Linked DNA regions of Homo sapiens: region 1 is linked to region 2. The links are contacts of gene promoters, found by promoter capture Hi-C in blood cells and fetal thymus (Javierre and others, 2016). All regions are on one chromosome and are shown on one strand. The core of a region is centred on a gene start or on the middle of the fragment in contact, and the rest is flanking DNA. Distances in the headings are between cores, read along the strand shown.

Evidence for each region. Contacts are between HindIII fragments. The CHiCAGO score rates a contact against its expected background, and 5 or more counts as called.
Region 1: a contact is called between a fragment that was not itself captured here and the fragment with the promoter of RASSF6 in region 2, in 1 of 17 cell types (fetal thymus). The highest score is 5.9, in fetal thymus.

What each region holds. Positions count from the first base shown.
Region 1 is chr4:73,862,431-73,865,336 of GRCh38, reverse strand. No RefSeq gene overlaps it. Among named protein-coding and RNA genes, the nearest start is that of CXCL1, 5.5 kb to the left of the region's middle. The HindIII fragment of the contact is 2,037 bases long and covers 638-2,674 here.
Region 2 is chr4:73,618,933-73,621,699 of GRCh38, reverse strand. It overlaps RASSF6 (Ras association domain family member 6), which reads left to right and starts at 1,264. Exons shown (of 11, transcript NM_177532.5): 1 at 1,264-1,412. RefSeq lists enhancers at 692-1,240, 1,241-1,790. The HindIII fragment of the contact is 3,198 bases long and covers 1-1,599 here.

The DNA of each region.
Region 1 (2,906 bases), core at 407-2,906, 240 kb before region 2:
CTTTTAGAGAGGAAACTGAATTTTCGTTTAGTGCCTGTTTGTTCAAATATGAAAATCCAAAATATCTACTGCCGAGTTTGGACACTTCATCATGTTTCATAGGATTAAATAGTTTGCCTTCATCATTAATCACGCTGCCCAAATCTCTCATCTAGTTCTGGTAACTGGAGAAAAACACAAGTGTTTCTGCTGTAATCATCTCAGGACCCAACCCAAAACTGACGCAATGAGAGCGCTCAGGGGGAGCAGAGCTCCACAGGAGCTGCCAAGAGAATGAAGCGAATTAAGCATGTCAAGAAGCAGTGGGCATCCGCAGATTAGACAGAACTTGACTCAGGAAAATTTTCATCAAAATCACATTTTGTGTAAATGAATTGGAATGGAAAGAATTTTTTGTTGTTATTTCCTCCTTAATATGCCACTTGTATCAATGAAATCCGCATAAACCAAAATTCAAAATTTATAAGCACAGGAATGCTGTAGCCTGGAAAAATAAACAAATTCATTGTCTTGTTGGAACAAATGTTCCTCCAAGCTAATTTTTTTCAAGAGTTGAATGACGGGATTTTACGCAGTCTTTAAACGTATGCAAGCAACAATTCTTAAAGAAATGGAGGAACCTTTAAAAATGGAAGCTTTGGTAGCTAAATTCCATTTTGCCTGGAATCACTATTGAAACTTTCATAATTAGCAGTCAAATCTGGGAGCTCATGTTTTCTAGACCTGTTTATCTGTCATTGCTGTAGCACTCTGCTGCCTGCAGATGTCACCTGGCAGCTCCCTGCCTCAGCTGCATCAGGTATTTTTCACTCACTAGCCCAAAGTTTCTCTGTTGCTGCCATGTAACATCCCTTTCGCAGGAGAAACCAGAGGCAAAAGATACATGTTTTCCCATTTTTCATGCTTTGGGCAGACATTCTACATCATTTCTCAGAGGATATCCAGTAGGATTGAACCCCAGTTGCCCATGTCCTCTTTTCCTATTTTACTCTTTCCTGTTCTTGAGTCCTCTGTGTTGGGAACATTTCCCCAAATCAATTACATGCATGGCAAGCCCATGACTCAAGCTCTGTATTTTAGGGGAGCCTAAATAGAGGCACTGCTCCATCCTGAGAAGTGACCATGCTCAAGGCAGGCAGGAACCGGCGGGGCAGCTCTCCTCTGCCCCTACTTGCCTTAGGAACTCTTGTCCCTCACACCTGCTGTACCTATTTCTCTATACTCATCTCTTCCAATGTAATGACTCTGGCTCTGAGCAGAGAATAATAAAGATGTGTGAATATGATGTTAGATTTCTGGATCAGTTCACCCCCCAAAGTACAAGGGCATAGTGGGTGCTAGAGTTAGGTTCAGCCTCTCTATTCAGTCTTCCAAAGACTGCTTGTCTGGCACCCCCTTCTCGGAACACCCCCTCGATTACCAGCTCTTAGTCTGTAGATTTCAGGTAAGATAACCCATCTCTCAGTTCCTTCCTGTATGCCACCCCCAGCCCTAACCCTGCTGATTAATTCAGATGTGGACAAGTGACCAAAGCCTGGCTATATTAGAAATAGTTCCTAGAATTTTTGCTGGAACGAATGAAAAGGAGGTTCTGAATTCTCACTGGGATTGCAAAACTGGTAAAATGAGGGCCTGGAATTTTGTAATGCTTGGAGAGAACCTACCTGAGAGCGAATTTGGCCCAGAGAAAAGCAAAGGTAAGACATGAAGGGGACCATCTAAGTATATGTATGGACACCTAGGTCCTCCAGCTGGCTCTGATTTATTTATGAACTTCTCAGTCATGTAGGCCAGCAGATTTTCTTTCTTTTCTTTTTTTTGAGATGGTATAAATTAGATGTCTGTCTCTTGCCAGTGAAATAGTCTTGCCTAATACCACCCATCTTCCACACTTCTGCTACAGACAACTTTCCTACATAGTTGCTCTAGTTACTTTATTGTTAATGCATCTGTCCATTCATCCATTCAAAATTTATCTACCACTCATAATCCAGGAACTAAATTTGGCTCTAAATCGGATTACAAAGAGGGAAAAGAAGACTTTGCTTCAACTGAACTCACATCTACAGAGTGGCACAGAAAGATATGGCATTGTGTGGAGGTCCAAGACACTCAGCTGTGTGCAGAGTTTTGTGGGCACTCACAGGAGGTGAACACCTGACCCTTTTTCTTGGGAGGGTGGGAGCTTCCAGAGAAAACTTTCTGGTAGAGGGTGCTACCTAAGGTGAGTTGGGAAGGGACCCACTTCAGAAGAGGCAGACCAAACAAGCAAAGGAATGGAAACTGGCAACAGTGTAGTGTGACCTGAAAACAAAAATCAGCCGTTTATTTTTTTAACACAGAATTTAACATTTAGATTGATCCAGCAGAAGGATAGGCAGGGCCCAGTCACTGAAGGCTCCTATTTATCAATCAAGGACCATTTCAAATGTCACTTCCATTAAAATCCCATCTTTCCTTCCAAAGGGTTATCTTGGCCTTTGGATACAAATCACATTGTGGGGAGCATTGATTTACATACTCCCATACTGGATTGTGTATTCTGTAAGGAAAGCCATCATATATCTCATTCCTGTTTGCATCCACCAGACTCTAAAATTCTCTCACACCAGTGGTTTTCCTAGGGACCCATCAAAAACTATGAATATCTGGTCCTGAAAGTTCACGGGAAGCTTTGTGCCAGGACTCTGGAAAAAGAAGATGTAAACATGAAGATAAGTTTTCAAACAGGGAGTTAGAAGGAGCTAGAAGAAAAAGTCTCTAAAATGAGTCTGGTTCATGCTAAGCACTCAACAAATGTTTGCTGACATAATGCATGAGTCAATGGTTTCAGGTCACTGTTTTAAAACTAAAATATCCTTAAGTCAGGATATGTGGAAGCTTCCCTTGATGGAGTGTGGAATTTC
Region 2 (2,767 bases), core at 15-2,514:
TTTTTTTGCAGAGACAGGGTTTTGCCATGTTGTCCAGGCTGGTCTTGAACTCCTGGGCTCAAGTGATCCACCAGCCTTGGTCTCCCAAAGTGCTGAGATTACAGGCGTGAGTCACTGCACCTGGCCTGCCTCACCTTTTGAACATATAGGATCTTACTTAAAGTGCTATGACAAACATGCAACCTGAACATCTAGAGTCATTCTGTTTGTCTGGCGTTTGAACACGAAAGATACTAGAAATTAACTCTGCCTGCTGAACTTTTTGCAGGAATCAGATTGAATTTCTTTTGAGGGCTCTCAGGTTTACACTTGTAAAATAACCTATTATGTTTAAAAATTATGAATAGTTGCTTTACATAGGAAACCAGTAAAATAACAATGATCCTTAAAAATCTGTGTGTGTGTGTGTGTGTGTGTGTGTGTAAATGTACTTCATATTTCCACAGCATCTGTCATTTAACAGTTTCTAAGCCTTTTTGGTGTCCTTTTGAAATTGGAGATATTGGATAAAACAAAGCCCCCAAATCCAATTCAGTAGATAATGACTAAATTATTATTTATCTCCTCTGTTTTGTTTCATTATGTTCATTTTCAAACTTTGATGTCTACCAGTTTCTTCTGTGGAGCTTATAAAAAATATAAATACCCGAAGTGTATGCATGGCCTACTAAATCAGAGTCTCACAGTTGATGGTACCTGGGTTTAGCAGAATACATAGGTGGTCCTGGTGCACCCTGAAGCGCGAAACGCTGCTCTGGGTGAAAAAAAGTGCTAGCAGGGAAATGTGTTAGCAAAATAACAAGGAAAAGAAAGTTAACAAATCTCAAATTGGAAAAGAAAAATCTTAAAAAGAAAGACGTGAATAATGGCGTTCAGTCTTGGTTGGTGTCATTTCTCACAGGCCAATTACCTACAGTCTGGGTGGACTAGAGAATAGAGATTAACATCAGTCAAATCCCGTGGTTAAAGCGTTAACTAGAATGTCCATTCATTTCTCAAGAAGTGTGGCAGAGAGCAAAGGAGTGTACCTATCAGCTGTTCCTAAGAAAGTAAACACTCCCAACATGCACTGAGGCACAGGGAGTGGCTCAGGTTTCTTGACACTTCCCTGCTGTGGCGAAAAGGAGAAATAATTAACAGCTCCTGGGGCTCCAGGATCGCTGATCGCGTCGGGGGCACTGCAAGCGCCCAGCTGAGCCATGCTCTGGGAGGAGACAGGCGCCGCCCCTGCGCCCGCGCGGGCCTCGGACCTCCCCTACAGGTGAGTGACTCGCGGAGTCCCAGCCCGGCAGAGACAGGGCACTGGTTTCCCTCTACCAGAGTTCCTGACCCAGCCGAGAACAAACCGCGAAGCAAGTTCAGCCGAACAACGATGGTGAAAAGGGTCCTCCTGCTCACAGTGTGAATAACAGGTAAAAAATGGGGATGGGGAAAAAAACTTTCTAATCCACTCCCTGGGGTCATGTTGAGGGCAAGTTATTAGAAAGCAGAATCCATAGGCAACAAAGTTAAGTGTGTGTGTGTCATAGCAGCCTGAATCGCACACATGCCTTTTCCTTTTGATTTTCTCAGAATATGCTTTCCTAACCAAGGTAAGCTTGTAGGGTGGGAGGGAGAGAGGGGAAAGAAGGGAGGGAAAGGGTGCAGAGAAGGGCTTGGAGGTAAATGTGACCATAGGACCCCTCCTCCCTTTAGTTCAATGAGCCCTTCACCTGTAATTGTGCCTGGCAAAAATCGTGCCTTACAAAGATACTAGACTTCTGGATGGCATACTCCTTCCTCTGAGTATCCTTATGGTTAGAATATTGTGTTGAATCATCGCACTGGAAAGAACTTAATTGAGGGTTCAGCTCAACTTTTATTTGTTTCTGCAAAGTGACAGAAAGCATGCCCCCCACCAAAAAAAAAATGAATTTTCAATATAAGCGCTCACCAAACAATGAAATAATAAACATAAATAATTAAATGGGAGTGCATGAGTTAAGGATATGAATTCTGAAGCAGAAGAGTGGTAGGTTCAAAGCTCGGCTTTGCCACTTATTAGTTTGCCCCCTCTCAAGTTTCTTAACCTAAGCCCCAAACGTTTGTCTGTAAAACAAGCATCATCAAAGGATCTGCCACATAAGGCTTTCTTTGATGGGAACTGAACAGTCAGCAAGTGTTCTGTAAGTGATACCTACTGTTAGCATTAAGAATAAGCTGCTCTGCCAAAGGGGCCGTTATCAGGGAGGGCAAGCTGAACTAGGGAGACCAGACAGTGTGTATTAGGATGCTGGAATTGAACTGGTTCCCGGAGACTGGATCCAGGACAGGCAAGCAGGTGACAGGTGTGCTAGGATCATCTCTCTGGGTAGCAACGAAATGACCTGGCTTCTTTCCATTTTTCAGATAGAGTATGTGGTGGCAAATTCAGACATATTTGCTACTCAATCAGTTTTCTTTTGAAAAATTCACATTTACATTAATCTGTTATTCCTAAAAAGAAAATAGAATTTTAGAGTAAGAGAGTTACACACAATCTCATATTGTGGAATTCATGCCATTTGGGTTTTATAAAGGAGACTGCTTTTGAATAACTTTCATCAATTTAGACCATATAATCCATGTCTTTATATTTCAGCACATATTGAATTGTTTGTATTGAAGTGCTGTTTTTAATTTGTGTTGATGGACAAGAGACATGAAGGAATAATACTTGTATTTTGTCAGTCTCTACCTCTTAAGCTTAAATTACAGGAAAGTGGCTTTATTTTATGAAGTTTCACTT